4 separate regions of the Homo sapiens genome follow, and regions 1, 2 and 3 are each linked to region 4. Evidence: promoter capture Hi-C in 16 types of primary human blood cells and fetal thymus (Javierre and others, 2016). All regions are on one chromosome and are shown on one strand. The core of a region is centred on a gene start or on the middle of the fragment in contact, and the rest is flanking DNA. Distances in the headings are between cores, read along the strand shown. Region 1 overlaps LOC105370660 (a long non-coding RNA gene). Region 2 overlaps SETD3 (SET domain containing 3, actin N3(tau)-histidine methyltransferase). Region 3 overlaps SETD3 (SET domain containing 3, actin N3(tau)-histidine methyltransferase). Region 4 holds the start of PAPOLA (poly(A) polymerase alpha).

The links. Contacts are between HindIII fragments. The CHiCAGO score rates a contact against its expected background, and 5 or more counts as called.
Region 1: a contact is called between a fragment that was not itself captured here and the fragment with the promoter of PAPOLA in region 4, in 1 of 17 cell types (naive CD8 T cells). The highest score is 6.6, in naive CD8 T cells.
Region 2: a fragment that was not itself captured here is called in contact with the fragment with the promoter of PAPOLA in region 4 in 1 of 17 cell types (naive CD4 T cells); the score reaches 6.6 in naive CD4 T cells.
Region 3: a fragment that was not itself captured here is called in contact with the fragment with the promoter of PAPOLA in region 4 in 6 of 17 cell types (total CD4 T cells, naive CD8 T cells, naive CD4 T cells and 3 more); the score reaches 12.7 in total CD4 T cells.

What each region holds. Positions count from the first base shown.
Region 1 is chr14:99,279,231-99,283,072 of GRCh38, reverse strand. LOC105370660 (a long non-coding RNA gene) reads left to right here. Exons shown (of 3, transcript XR_001750881.2): 3 at 1,336-3,062. Among named protein-coding and RNA genes, the nearest start is that of BCL11B, 9.0 kb to the right of the region's middle. The HindIII fragment of the contact is 8,266 bases long and covers 1-3,842 here.
Region 2 is chr14:99,401,714-99,405,158 of GRCh38, reverse strand. SETD3 (SET domain containing 3, actin N3(tau)-histidine methyltransferase) reads left to right here. Exons shown (of 13, transcript NM_032233.3): 11 at 849-934. Among named protein-coding and RNA genes, the nearest start is that of SETD3, 77 kb to the left of the region's middle. The HindIII fragment of the contact is 2,808 bases long and covers 621-3,428 here.
Region 3 is chr14:99,426,873-99,430,356 of GRCh38, reverse strand. The region is part of intron 6 of SETD3 (SET domain containing 3, actin N3(tau)-histidine methyltransferase); the gene reads left to right. Among named protein-coding and RNA genes, the nearest start is that of SETD3, 52 kb to the left of the region's middle. The HindIII fragment of the contact is 2,703 bases long and covers 1-2,697 here.
Region 4 is chr14:96,500,467-96,504,252 of GRCh38, reverse strand. PAPOLA (poly(A) polymerase alpha) reads right to left here and starts at 1,871. Exons shown (of 22, transcript NM_032632.5): 1 at 1,653-1,871. The coding sequence starts at 1,660. It overlaps PAPOLA-DT (PAPOLA divergent transcript), which reads left to right and starts at 1,927. Exons shown (of 1, transcript NR_122121.1): 1 at 1,927-2,605. RefSeq lists enhancers at 1-223, 1,379-1,974, 1,798-2,057, 1,975-2,569, 2,570-3,166 and silencers at 1,558-1,677, 2,116-2,459. The HindIII fragment of the contact is 10,690 bases long and covers 1-3,786 here.

The sequences.
Region 1 (3,842 bases), core at 1,149-3,648, 2.8 Mb before region 4:
CAAACTCCGCTTCCTGGGTTCAAGCGATTCTCCGCCTCAGCCTCCTGAGTAGCTGGGATTACAGGTGCCTGCTGCCACGCCCAGCTAATTTTTGTATTTTTAGTAGAGACAGCGTTTCACCATGTTGGCCAGGCTGGTCGCGAACTTCTGGCCTCTGACCTCAGGTGACCCACCCGTTTTGGCCTCCCAAAGTGCTGGGATTACAGGTGAGAGCCACCGCGCCCGGCTGGCCTTGGATTTTCTAGTTTGCCTGTGTATTAGGTCTTGTAGTGAGGTCCAGCTGGCTCAGTCACTGATACCCTCCTATGTGCCCGTCACAGGCACAGGAGACAAGGTAGGATCTGGACTGTCTGCTTTGAGAAGCTCAGAGCCCAGTGACCTGCTACTAGCAGATAACAACTATAATGTTTTCCTCTGGGTATTGGCAAAGGTTAGCCTGGTCCTTGGCACAAAGTAGGTGTGCTATGATTTGAATGTGTCCCCTCCAAAATTCACGCTGAAACTCAGTCCCCATTGTGGTGGTATTCAGAGGTAGGGCCTCTGGGGAGATGACTGAGTCATGGAGGCTCTGCCCCATGAGTGGATTAGGAGAGAAAGGGCTGGAGGGAACTAGCTTAGGCCTGTTTGCTCCTCTGCCATGTGAAGCTGTCGTGTTTGTCCACCCTGGAGGATGTGGCAACAAGGCACCATCTTGGCAGCAAAGGCTGGGGCCCTCACCAGACACTGAACCTTCTGACGCCTTCATCTTGGACTTGCCAACCTCCAGAAATGTGAGAAATCAACGTCTATTCTTTTTTTTTTTTTTTTTTTTTTTTTGAGATGGAGTCTCACTCTGTCACCCAGGCTGGAGTAAAATGGCGTGATCTCGGCTCACTGTAACCTCCGCCTCCCAAGCTCAAGCGATTCTCCTGTTTCAGCATCCTGAGTAGCTGGGATTACAGGCACCTACCATCATGCCTGGCTAATTTTTGTATTTTTGTAGAGATGGGGTTTCACCATGTTGGCCAGGCTGGTCTTGAACTCCTGACCTCAGGTGATCTGCCCGCCTTGGCCTCCCAAAGTGCTGGGATTACAGGCATGAGCCACTGCGCCCGGCAATATCTATTCTGTATACATTACGCGGTCTCAGGTATTTTGTTACAGCAGCGCTGAGACAAGATGCTTCATCAATATTAGTCGATTATGTACCAGTGAAATCTGGGGGAAATTTCCCATTTCATTCCTGAAATATTGACGTGTGTACCTTAGACTGAGTTGAATGTGAATCTCTTGTTTCATGAGTAAAACGCCTCCATAATAATATCTATCATTTATTCAATGCCTCCTCTGTGCCAGGCCTGTGCTGGGGGCTTTCTGAGAGGTCATCTGATGAGATGCTCACAGAGGCGTTGATAGAGGAGGACCTGGGATGTCGAGAAGAGAAACCGCATGAAGGCTTTTGCAGCTAGCAGCGGGCGCAGCGGAGACTTGACCCTGGCGATCTCGGAGGCGTATATCAAGCTGTGTGTGCCCTGTCCTGCTTTTCTCACAGGCTGCTGGGAGGACAAACTCAAGTCAGGGAAGCAAAAGGGCTTTGTACACTAAAACTCTGTCCCAACATGAGTTGTTTGTCTGTTTCAAATTTTACCAGCAGAAACGTCTGTCTTACCCCACTCTCTCCACCCCATTTCTCTCTGCCTCAATTATCTGGTTTCATAACCGTGGTGTGTCTTGTTGGATTTTGCTGTCTCAAACAAACAAACAAACAAACAAAATCTCTTCTACTAACTGAGTATACTGTGTCCTTAATGCAAACTTTGTTTCTCTGTAATTCTCTTCCTTCCTCCATGTCTCGATCCAGCACTGACTTTGTCTTTGCTGTTCTGGTTCCACATCTGGTGATGTTTTCAGCTGCCTGTTATTGGCTTGCAGGATGGCTGGAAATCCAACCTGGGTATAGGACGGCATAGTGGTTATACACAGAGACAGACCTGGGGTGATTTGGGCTCTACCTCGTGGTGGCTGACTTCGGGTTTCCTGTCTAAGGGGGATGAAAGTCTTTCTCTTCTGAGGATTAGATAAGATAAATGCCTCACAATGTAATTAGACAGAGTGTCTCTTTGAATGAGTAGGTCTTGAGGGTCTTGGAAGAATTCTGCAATCTGTGCTCAGGACCCCTGAGCCCTGCTGCTTTGCTCCCATGGCACTTGGGACACATGGCCATGAGTCCATGTGATGGGCTGTACTCTCACTACTATAATTGCTGAACTATGTCATCAACTTTTGTTTTCCCTTGCTCTGTTCTTTGGAGCTGGGGTGGTGTGTCAGATTCAGGCTTGCCTGAACTTGGAACCTCAGTACCACCACCTCACAATATTGCCATCTTTGGGCCCTGTCCCCCATGGTGTGCTTGGCATACAGCAGGCGTCCCATCCGCGTGTGTTGTTGAAGGAACAAATCACAGCCATGCTTATGATGCGACTGCTGCATGGCGAGAGACCGGGCCAGGCGCTTTGCTAAGACCCACTCATCACCGCTTATACAGAGCGGTGAAGCCCATCTGACAGGGAGACCACAGAGCCTGAGAAATGAATGCCCTTTCCCCAGCCGACTCAGCCAAAGCCTGAGCTTCCAGATGGGCACCCTGGCAGCATGTAGCAGGCCAGGGTTTGCAGGGCAGGGGAGCCATTCTACTTCAAGGCAGCAGGCAGCCCTCATGGCTGGTGGGGAGGCTACTGACAGTCACTAGCTGTGACTACTAGCAGGCAGGTTTTAGGGAATGACGCCTCGATTTTTCACTTTGAGGAAACCCTTGATGTGCACCGTGGCAGTGGCAGAGGCTAATCGCGTGGATCTGGGAGCTAATGCAGCTGCTGTAATTCCTGTCACCTTCTCACAGCTCAGTGGGAGCTTCCGATGAATAAATCGTGGCATTCAGGGGCTGCATACATCAGTGGCAGGTGTCACCGTCATAGGTCGGGCAGGGCACTGGTGCTCCACCTTGCCTTGTCTTTAATTAAAGGAGGAAATATGTCAGAACTGACAGGACCACTGACCAGCCTACCAGGTCCTTTCCAGTCGCAGTGAAATCAACCGTTAAAGATGCTCATCTCAAGAGGAGAACGAGTCTCTTATGCTTCTGGGGAGAAATCACCATCTGGCGAGGGTTTCCTGGCCTTTGGGGGTCCCCCTGCTACCTCCTCTGAGCCATCTGGGGCTCCCCTGCATTTGCCCCTTACTTGGGAACTGTAACCCTTAGGGATCAGAGGGAGCATGGGAACAAAACAATTCAATAAAGTCACAATAAAGCATCCAAAGCCCTTCATACTTTTTCACTTTCTTTAACTCAATTTATTTTTCATTTTGTGGACAGAGATTTAGTCTGGGTATTAGTTTATGATTTTTACTGAAGGAATTACTCAACACACACACATATAAAAAGGAAATATTATTTTTATCATTTATTTTGTGCCATGTATACCATAGGAGAAAAAAACGGAGCGAAATCACTTCAGTACCGCTGTGTTTTTCATTACAAAGTTATTACATATAGAAATTACTCCAAATTATCTGAAATGAATGGAAATTATGAGGTTTAAATTCCCCAGGTTACTGCAGGCACAGCTCTGGAAATTTATTTTGTCATCTTGCTGAACATAATTGCTACAACAAAATTTCTTCCATTTTACAACTGCAGCATAACTTATTTATACCGGTGTAGCTGTAATTTTACATCAATAAGTTGCATGGGAAGGAATACACAGGTGGTAATTGAAAACAATAATTTGTACTGAGGTCCAGGTGGAACGGTTGGCTCAGAAAAAGGCTCCAGTTATTATCGGCAACAGCTTTGTGTCACTGCG
Region 2 (3,445 bases), core at 775-3,274, 2.9 Mb before region 4:
ATTTCCAGTTGCATAGTGTTTAATTGGTGTGTTAATAAAACTTCTCTCCAGTAGTTTGTCTTAATCCGTTTATCCCCGTGGCACAGCAAATTTAAGCCATGGCGACGCTTGGTGGCTTACCAGCGTTTTCAGGTAAACATAATTGTGTCGTTGGGCGCATTCACAGTCAGTTCTGGGGGATATGGCCTGAAATCCTCATTAAGTTAAATAACTACTTTCGTATCATTCATGTCTTTCACCTTGAAAAGGTTAATGGCCTGGATCAATTTGTTTCATTTAATTCGTTGCTACCATTAGTTTCTGTAATGAAGTCATGATCCTCAGTGATTTCAAGAATTTCTAGTTAAGTTCTTTAAGATTTTCTTGCATTTGAGGCATAAAATGATAAAGAAGACAGGAATTAGGATTCATTAGTTCTCCAGGGAATAGAGGAACCATTCTTAATGAAAATGGATTATGCAGACCTTTTTTTTATTGAACTTGTCAATATTTGATTAATGATTAAAGTGTGAACTCAACATAAATTATTGTTAACACTTTTTAAAAACCATGTGTATGTTTAATTTTTGAATGTATTATGTGCAACCTGAGATTACAGCTGTTAGGCTCTAGGAAAAGCTTGTGAGGATGGTCTCCAATTCTGGATGTCCGCTTGCCTCCGCCCCAGCCTGCGGCCTTTTGCAGGGGCTGAAAATCGTGCTCACAGTTGAGATGAGGAGCTGGAATGACCCATTCCAGCTCAGCTCTCCTTGAGGACAACCACACGTGCTGTAGACTTAAGGAATCTCAGTTTGGAGCAAGTGGGTAACCGCAGCAGGGTGACTGATCTTGCTTTCTGCTTTTATCAGTTCCAGTGTTTTTGCATTGCATTTTACCGAGCCGCCCATCTCTGCTCAGCTTTTGGCTTTTCTCCGAGTATTCTGTATGACTGAAGGTAAGTCATTTCAGGAAAAAAGAGATGTTGACTTTTTTCTTTTTAAATCATGAAAGTGTAAAGCATAGGGATTCAGATTAAAGGTAAAGTGGATTAAAACTACAGTACTTTTGGGAAGAGAGAAGATACAATACTGGAGAAAGAAGAAATAGATTTGTTTTACCCTAGAAATGTTTTATTAAATCCTCGATGTGTTGTCAGTATTAATTTGTAATACGCAAATAATTCTCAACTGCATTTGAAGAAAACTTAAAACATCTTGGATAGGGTAAATATATCAAAATTCTACATTTGTAGCCTGACAGAGCCTCATTTCACTCACGGGGCACTAGTCTTTTTCACTTACATAGAGCAGTTCAGGATCAGTTGATGCTGTGATGTTGTGTAGTCAGCTGTGGCATACGTGGACCGTAGGACTTTATTTGTTAACCTACTCTGCATTCTAAATCTGAAATTGCCAGCAAGCATTTTAATGCCAAGCATCCTGTTAGAGTAAATAACATTGCAAACAGAATCTGTGTAGAACACAAAATGTTCCTGGCTACAGCCTCTTATTTCATGCCCAGAAAGAGTTAAGTATTTGTATTGAGCATCTACTTTTATATTAGCTTAAAACAAGTCATTTGGGGTTTCTTATGCTGAGATTTGACCTCTCGTGGTTGTGTTTTTATTTTTCATCCTAAAATGTATCTTACAAATTTCCTGGCCCTGAGGTTTCATTTTTAAGAGAGAGAAAGAGAGAGAGAGAGAGAGAGAGAGAGAGAGAGAGTGTGTGTGTGTGTGTGTGTGTGTGTATGTTTTGCTGTTGTTAACTACCTTAAATCCTGTACAGAACAGTCTGAGTAGGAATGAGTAAATGAGTGTTTGAGTGAGTGAACAGACGAACAAGTGTTCTGGAAGGAAGCTGCCCAAGCACTTCCTTGGTCGGAGGAAGCAGTCATGGCCCATGTGGGGGAAGCTGCTGTGCTCGGCGGTCACTGGCTTTGGTTTTAATGTCTGGATCCAGGGAGCAGTGCAGCACAAGTCCAGGGTTTGACGTCATGCTGGAGGCAGAAAAAACCTAGTCCCGAAACAGGAGAGGCAGTTCACACACCAACCGCAGAACCCAAACTGAGATACAGTCATTGTTCCTCATAAGCAACCCTGTCGCTAGATTTACGGTTATTCAAGTGGGAGCTTTTGGTGCTTTTTGTACTTGGGTAATGGTTCATCAATTCAATGTAATGAACACGAGTTAAGGGGTTAACTGTGAGCTTTTCTTGCATATATATGGATACAGAATTGAATGTTGCAGTTCATGTACTCAAGGCATTTATAATTAAGAGAGGTGATGGTGATGATATTCCTTGAATTTGTGAAGCATTCACTGTGCGCCAGGCATGATGCTACATTTGGTACATGCTCAGTTTTAATCCCATCAGCCTTGATTGGGAAGTGCTCCCATTTTACTGATGTAGATTCCACTTCAAAGAGGGTAAGTATTAGCTGGGCGTGGTAGCACGTGCCTCTAGTCCCAGCTACTCGGGAGGCTGAGGTAGGAGGATTGTTTGAGCCTGGGAGGTGAAGGCTACAGTAAGCCAACCCCAGCCTGGGTGACAGAGTGAGACCCAGGTGGGTGGGGAGTGGGGGAAGAGTATAAAGTTGGCTGGATGCTGTGGCTCATGCCTGTAATCCCAGCACTTTGGGAAGTTGGAGGATTGATTGAGCCTGGGAGGTTGAGGCTGCAGTGAGCCGTGATCTTGCTACTGCACCCTAGCCTGGCCAACAGAGCAAGACCCTGTCTAAAACAAACAAACAAACGAACAAACTAACAAAAAACCCAAAGAGGATAAGTAACTTGGCCGAGGTTGCTCAGTAAGCAAGTGATGACCCTGACTTAGAACCCACCTCTGTTAACTCCAGAGCCCACGTGCAGGACATCCCACATTGCTCCTGCTGGTTCACAGATAACATAGTACATGGAAAAAAGTCTTAGTGCTCTAGGGGTCTGGAGGAAATGGCATTCAAGTTAAACTGTGGAGCTCAGCGACTGTTTGGACAAGGTAGAGCAGGAGGGGAGGGGTATGACTGAAGACCTTTAGCATAGGGAGGAGCTTGAGCAGGAGCTAGGGAGAGAGGGTGGAGGGCACTGGGCTCTGTACCCTCCGGGGTGAGCACACACTGTGGTGGCCAGAATGAGGTGCAGGGATAATTTGCAGGCCCTGTTTGCTGGAGGAAAGCTCAGGAGGGCACCTGCTGCAGGAGCTCCTGGCCTGCAGGCAGGCCACATGCTACATTGTCTTACTCCCCTTTTTGTAGGCTTTATTTCTCCAGAAATGTGAAATGAGTCCAGTTTCACTTTTAAAAAGTAGCGGAGAGAAAGCTCTGCCGCACACCTGCAGCTTCCATCATTGCAGAGTGCAACTTGGGCAGATTGAGGAAGGAGATGAGGGAAGGAAACAGTAACCTTCATACTGGGGGCCTTTGAAAAGAACTTTCAGCCACTAAGAAAGCTTAAAAAAACAGAACGTC
Region 3 (3,484 bases), core at 97-2,596, 2.9 Mb before region 4:
ATTCTGTTTGACAGGGTTTCAGTGACCCAGAACCTCAAGTGGGCAGATCTGGATGGGCCAGAAACCTCAGTGTGAAATTCAGCTTCTCCCAGACTTCACTCCCATTGTGCATGTGTGTGTGCATATCTGTGCACCCAGGGCAGGGAGGGCTTTATTCAGAGAGCAGAGATCTTTCTTTACTCTTCTCCTCCTCAGTGGGAGCCAGTGCTAAACTTGGTTCCTGGATTCAACTCGAGTGAGCATAAGTCACCTGGGAAACTTACTGAAAACGCTGTTTCCTGGGCTTCCCTCTCTGGGCCCATCAGGCCCATCTTGAGCCATCAAGGCTGGGCTCACTCCCCCTCCCCTCTCGTTTAATGGCTGGGGGTAGTGACTGCTTGTCTTTGGACCCACTCCAGAATATCTTACCATTTCCTCTATACTTCACAGTTTTCATCTGTTTCAAAGAATGAAAACAGGTGTGTGGAATTGAGGAGACCAAAATAAATCCTTAAGCATATAAGGTAGGCCTTATGGAGGCCTTAAAATTACTTGATTTTCATAAGTAACTTTGGGACTTAAAAAGATTCAGATGGGTTTCTATATTGGATTTGCTTCTGTTCAAGACTCCTGGTGTTGAGGCACCTCTTCCTCACGTTTTAACTAGCCAGTGTCTGTCTGGAGTACAGAGCACATGTTTCAAAGAACTTGGATATATCCAAAACCCATAAATTTAGGACTGAAATAGGATGTTAGTTATCAGATGACTGAGTGAATGCTGAACATATATGGAAACAAAAGAGACAAGAAATGGTATAACCATATTAATGACAATCATGAAACAGACCAAATGCCTCGCACCCTAAGCAAAGTCTCTTACATCCCGTTTAAGAGAATCGGGGTGCTCTGTTTATGTTTAGATTTCTTGGCTTCTTTCCATTCCATCTCAGAGTTTCCCCTGCGTCTCACCAGTGCTCCTTTTCTTCACTTTTCTTTTCTTGTCCAGCCTGTGCCCTTGGTGGTGTGATGCCTCCTGTGTCTGTGTTCTGTCACTTACTTGCCCTCCCTTGTGTCTTTCTTTTTTCTTCATCCTTTTAAATCCTCTTCTTTTTTTCCTGCAAATATGTTTGGTTCCTGTGAACAGAACAGTTCAGTGCAGAAGGGCACTAACATTTACTGGGTTCCTGGATCATGGAGTGGAGATCCCATGGAGCAGAGGCACAGGCAGCACCCAGGGAGCATGCAGTGAGTGAGAAATGACTCCTGGAGACACCGTATTATGGCAGATTCCAGCCCATCTTGACTAATAGTCATATGTTTGTGTGAATTTTTTTGAGAAGTACACCCAGAAGTTCATAATTAAAATTTTTTTTTCTTTGCTGCTTAGAGGCTTAAAACACACATTTATTATCTCACAGTTTGTGTGGGTCAGAAAGGCAGGCATGGCTTAGTTGGGCTGTCTGCTGCAGGGTCTCTCTCAAAGCTGCAGTTAGGGTGTGGTCTCATCTGAAGGTGTGACTGGGGAAGGGTGCCTTCCATGCCCACTCCTGTGATTGGCAGCAGGCTTCAGTTCATCAGTGCCTGGGTTTCTTGCTGGCAGTTGCTAGAGGCCACCCTCAGTTCCTTGCCACATCAGGCCCATAGATTTTATCAGATTCTCAAACTTCACCTACCCCCTCCCCACATTTTCTCACTTCCTCCATCACTTGTTTTGTTTTTCTTTCTTTTTTCTTGAGACGGGGACTTACTCTGTCACCCAGGCTGAGTGCAGTGGCATGATCTCGGCTTACTGCAAACTCCACCTCCTTGGCTCAAACAATCCTCCCACCTCAGCTTTCCGAGTTGGTGGGACTACAGGTGTGTGCCACCACACCTAGCTAATGTTTGTATTTTTTGGTAGTGATGGAGTTTTGCCCTGCTGCCCAGGCTGATCTCGAATTCCTCACCTCAAGTGATCTGCCCTCCTGGGCCTCCCAAAATGCTAGGATTACAGGTGTGAGCCACTGCACCCAACCCCTCCACCACTTGTTTTGATTCATCCTTTGGCAGATTACTTTTCCTAAATGCTGAAGACCAGGGGGTGCTCAGTGTCTACAAAGTCCTTGTTCCTGGATGGATACTAACTTACTGACACCTCTCAAGTGCCAGCAAACTCTGGTAGCAGGGATTGTCTTCATTTTACATGTGAAGTAACAGACCAGATGGGTAGCACTGCTTGGGGCCACATAGCTAATACTCTAATGCTCCTGCCGTGGGCACTGTGCCACCCTCTGCAGGGCCTCATGTGTTGGGACTGCACTGGCATTGCACCTTTTCATCCCTCTGTGTGCCAATCGATTCTGCAAACCCCAGCTGCTCAGCTTCCCTTAACAAGCCCTCCTTTCCCTGCCTCTGCCATTTCCGGTACTCTCTGTCTGGGATGTCTCCCTTCCCACATGGAAAATCCTGCCCATCTTTAGAGACTTAACTCGCATGCCACCTCCTCTGTGAGTCATTGCCAGATCCCCCTCTTCCCGACAGTGACTGCAGCTTCTTTTCTGAATTCCAGCACGTGTCATGTATCCTGGTGTGACACGTCACAGTTTGCCTGTCTGGGCTCCCTGCTCCAAAGTCGTTGGCTCCTTAAAAGCAGGGAACTCATCTTGCTCATTGTCCCCCCACAATGCCTTGCACGCAGCAGACACACAGTGCAGGTTTGGGGAGTTGACGGACGAAGCTTTGCTGGGAAGCTTTAAGATGAGATTAAAGTGGCTCTGAAGCTGCAGAAATGTGCATTAGTACATCAAGGATAAAATTATACCACTTTATGCCTTGGCCTCCTTTATCGTTTTCTATAAAATAATAGCTATTTTACTTTGATAACTTTTGAGATTAAGCAAAATCTTTCTTGAAAGTTTAACACCTGTTCCTTTTCCTACTTTTTTGCAGATATAGTTCATCCTACAGTTTTCACACTTACTCACAAGAGTAGCACAGTAAATATTACATTTATTTCATTATGTCCTGTTTTTTAAAACATGGGCATATATTTTAAGCAGTTAAAGGCTAAAAGATGTGGTTATTTTGGTTATCCTTATGATGGGGTAACGTATTTTCACTGAAAGTCAGTGGGCATCTTCCAGTCAAATGGAGAAGTTGTCTGTTTCGTAATACAAAGGTATGTTTTCCTTGTCAGCATCATGTGCACCATTAAGTTTCTGTGAATAATTTGAAGTACCTAGCTTTATTTTTCGAGCTAAAAGGTTAATTTGCAAAATGACCACACTTGGGAAAGTTAGCAGCCTCGTCATAGGAACATGACAGGAGGCGCTCCGGATGCTCCCCAGCTGCCCCCCACGCTCTCTTGCCTGCCAAGTAAAACCCTGACATCACCGCCTGCTTCTCCCTGCGTCCCCACCTGAGTTACTGATTGCAGCATGTGGGGCATGCAGTGTGGGGGAGGCAGAAGGTGGGGAGTAGGTAAATATGAAAGGCAAGGCCTCTGCCCTCGTTGGCCGAGCGAGGT
Region 4 (3,786 bases), core at 622-3,121:
ATTGAAGCCTTTTAAGGTTTACATCTATCATTTTTAATGCTGGTATGATTATCAGAAAAAGAAGTCCCTTTTCAAAGACAGCAAAATGTTAACTTAATAACGCAGTCATCACGACATCACTGCAAACATTTATCTCCTATTGAACTGAGAAACACCACAACAATCTTGCTTAGACTCAGTTCTCCTAGGGTCTCTTATTCTATGAAAGGGAAAAATCAATAAACAGAAACCATGCAGATTCCAAGATTTTAGACCTGTATAGTTAGTTAAGTCTAACAAACGTTTTCATCACAGAAGTAATGTGATAGACTTCTTAATAACCTAAGGGGGTGGGTGGGAGCCATGGAAAATCCTTTTAAAATACATAAATTGCGATAGAAGTCATTAAGGTCTGTGCCAAAGTTAGAGTCTCACCTGTAAAGAAACACATTCACACACATATATAATTGTAAAACTACAATCGGTGATTATGTGCTAAAGAAATTATCCTTACTTACAAAAAAAAAATAGACCTGAGTTACTACATTCGATGTCTAGAAACCACAAAAATCTTTATCCTGAATTTAACCAAAACTTTGAGTGTCAATTACATGTTGCGTTTTGAGGCTACTAAGATGAAGAAAACTCGGTCCCTGGTCTCAAAGAGGCACTCTTACGCTTCAATATTCAAAAATGGAAGAAATGCAGTCTCACTATTTAGGCCTCTACAATGCTGTATATTTGCAGGAAAAAAAAAATCCGTAATCTACTGGCAATGAGCTGCCAAATTATATCTCATTATCAGAAAGGGGGAGGGGAGAAAAAAACTTTTTAAAAACCCACCAAGAAAAGAAAAAGGCGCAGTGGCATTAGAAAGCATAAAGAGACTAGCTTCAAGCCTTACAACCAGGAAAAAAAAAGTATCACCAGAGATAGAGAAAGAAGGAAACAGAATGAAACCTGGTTACCCCATCAAAACAAAACAGGGAAAGCAATACATAAGTCGTTTTGGAGGAGGGCACCCTGTGAAGTGCCCCCTTCTCCGACCGCCTGTGAATGCTAGGGAGGCGGAGGTGGAGGCAGGCGGACTCAACGCTCAAAGCTGGGCTTTTAACTCGTGCTCCTACATTCAGACAAGGTCAGTGGAAAGGGGCTAACTCCGGCGCACAAGACAGGCATCTGGAAATGGGAGGAAGAGAGTGAGCAAACTGAGACAGACCAGGAACAGAAAAGCAACATCGAATGGGCCCGAGGGGCGCCGAGAGCGAGCCCGAACCCCAAGTGCTGATCCCGCGTGCAGCAGGGTCGTGGTTCCCCACCACCAGGCAATGTTTTGTTTTCGGGTTGTTTTGATTTTCTTTGTGGACGGGGCGGAGAAGCTGGAGTGGCCGGGCGAGTTAGAGGTTCCGCCAGCAATTCCGGAAGGGGAAGGCCCCCGGCCCGACGGCAGCTGACCCAGCCAGGAAGGGTCGGGGGACGCGGGAACCCAGCACACGGGGGGAAGTGCGGCGGCGAGCGAGCGAGGAAACAGGAAGGTCCCCAGTCCTGCCTGCCTCCTACCAGCGGGGAGGGTCGGGCTCGCGTGCCACCCTCTCCGCCTACCTCTTCCCCTTCCCGGACGCCCCCCAAGGCCCAGCCGGCGAGCGAAAGAAAACAGAATACAAATTACTTACAACGGCATCGTCTCCGGCGCCGGCACCGCCCAGTCACTTCCCCCCCGCAACCGCCGCCGCTGCCGCCCTGGGCATGATCCACTGAGGCGGGAGGGAGGGGGGGGCCTGCCTCAGCCCTGGGTCCAACCCCTCTCCCGCACCGCTCCCGCCGCTTTAAGCGCTTCTCCTCCTTCCCCTTCGTCCTAACATGGCGCCCGAGCGCTACCACAGCAACGTTCTAGAACTGCTGACGCCACCACGCACGCCGTGCGTGCGCCTGCGCACCAGCGCCGTCCGCCGCGAAGCCTCACGGGAAGCGGAGTTCCTAAGGCCGCCTGCGGCCCGGCAATTACCCCCTGGGTCCTCTCACACTTAGCAGTGGGTGTCAGATGGTGGAAGGGAACGCTCAGGGAGGCCCCGGGCGGTGAGTTGTCCCTCGGGCGGGGACGCCCTCGTGGGCAGTGCGGCGTGGACGGCGCAAGGAAGAACCCGGAGAGATCCCAAGCCACGAGGCACCGCTTCCGGCGCATTGTGAGGTCCCACCTTTCCCGCCGCCTGAGGTCGCGGCGGCTGCTCTTTCCCGGAGCAGCGTCCCTGGAGGCGCTGCCAGGGGGTGAGGCACCCACGCGTGCACCGTATGTACCCCCCAGCGCGGCGCTTAGAACGACTCGCATGAGTCGCTGCCTTGGGTTGGAACCGGTTACTCCGCCGCTTCGTACTGGACTGCAAAGTAACAAGTACTTCGCCGGGCAGCGGTGCCGACCCCGTGTGCTACGGCGAGAGGTGCTTAGCCTAGAGCCGACGAAAACATGTCCCCAGGACTCCCTTTCCCTCCCAGACTGCGTCCCACCAGATGGAGCTTTCCGTCTGTTTTAACCACCAGTGTATTCCTGATGCCTGACCCAGGCGCTGAAATATTTGTTGAACGAATAAATGTGTAGGTTAGGACTGACGACAGTCCGCGAATTCTGGAACACGGGCTGATTTTACTTTTGAACAAATGATGCACTGGAACTTCCTGACAGAGCTGACCTTTTATAGGAACATCAATGGCAGTCACCGCTGGCATTTTAGCAAAGGTTGTCTTGGTCATAATTTCCCCTTGACTGTGTTTCCAGCCCTTAATCTATATCGGGTGGGACCTGGAAGTCTACCTTCTCGCCACCCCTCGGCAAAAGTTTGAGAAAGTGTTTGAGGCAGAGCCTCCTCTCTCATATGCCCTCCATCTGCGAATTAGAACGAATTATAAGTTCTACGGTGTCACATAGGGGGTTAGCGGAGAGGAAGAGGGAAAGAATCAAATACAGGACGCTGCCTTAACCAAAGTTCTAAACTCTAAATGTAATAATGTGCATTTGTGAGTCCTCAGGAAGTTTCACAAAGGCTTTCCCTTTTTTCACAGAATGTCTAGTAGGACTGGTGACTCCGAATGGGAAAAACACAGGACCTAGACCTGCCCTGTCCATTAGTGTAGCCCCTTGGCCACTTAGGGCCACTGAGCACTTGAAATGAGGCTAGTTCGTTTAGGAGGCACTGGAAGTGCAAAATACGCACGGGTGTCAGTTCGACGAATGTGAAATACCTCACTGATCACTTTTTATATTGATTGCACGTTGAAATATTTTGGATATATTGCAGTAAAGAAAATGTAAGCCGGGCACGGTGTCTCACACCTGTGATCCAGCACTTTAGGAGGCTGAGGTGGGAGGATCGCTTGGGCAGGAGTTAGAGACCAGCCTGGGCAATATAGGGAAACCCCCGTCTATACAAAAAGTTAAAAAAAAAAAAAAAAAAAGAAAAAAGAAAAAAAAATTAGCTGGGCATGGTAGTTCCTGCCTGTGGTCCCAGTTACTCCGGAGACTGAGGTAGGAGGATCCCTGGAGTGGGAGGTGGAGGCTGCCGTGAGTCGTCATCTCACTACTGCACTCCAGCCTGCGTTGACAGAACGAGATCCTGTCTCAAAAAAAAAAAAAAGAAAATATACTATTAAAATTAATTTTACCTGTTTTTTTAAATGTGACCACTAGAAAATTTTAAGTTATATATGTGGCCTTCATTTCCATTAAATAGTGCTGATCTGCAAACAGACTTATATTTGATTGTCATTTCTTCCATTTAGTCTCTTTTCCTCTTGTCATCAAGGTGGCTTTGGCTG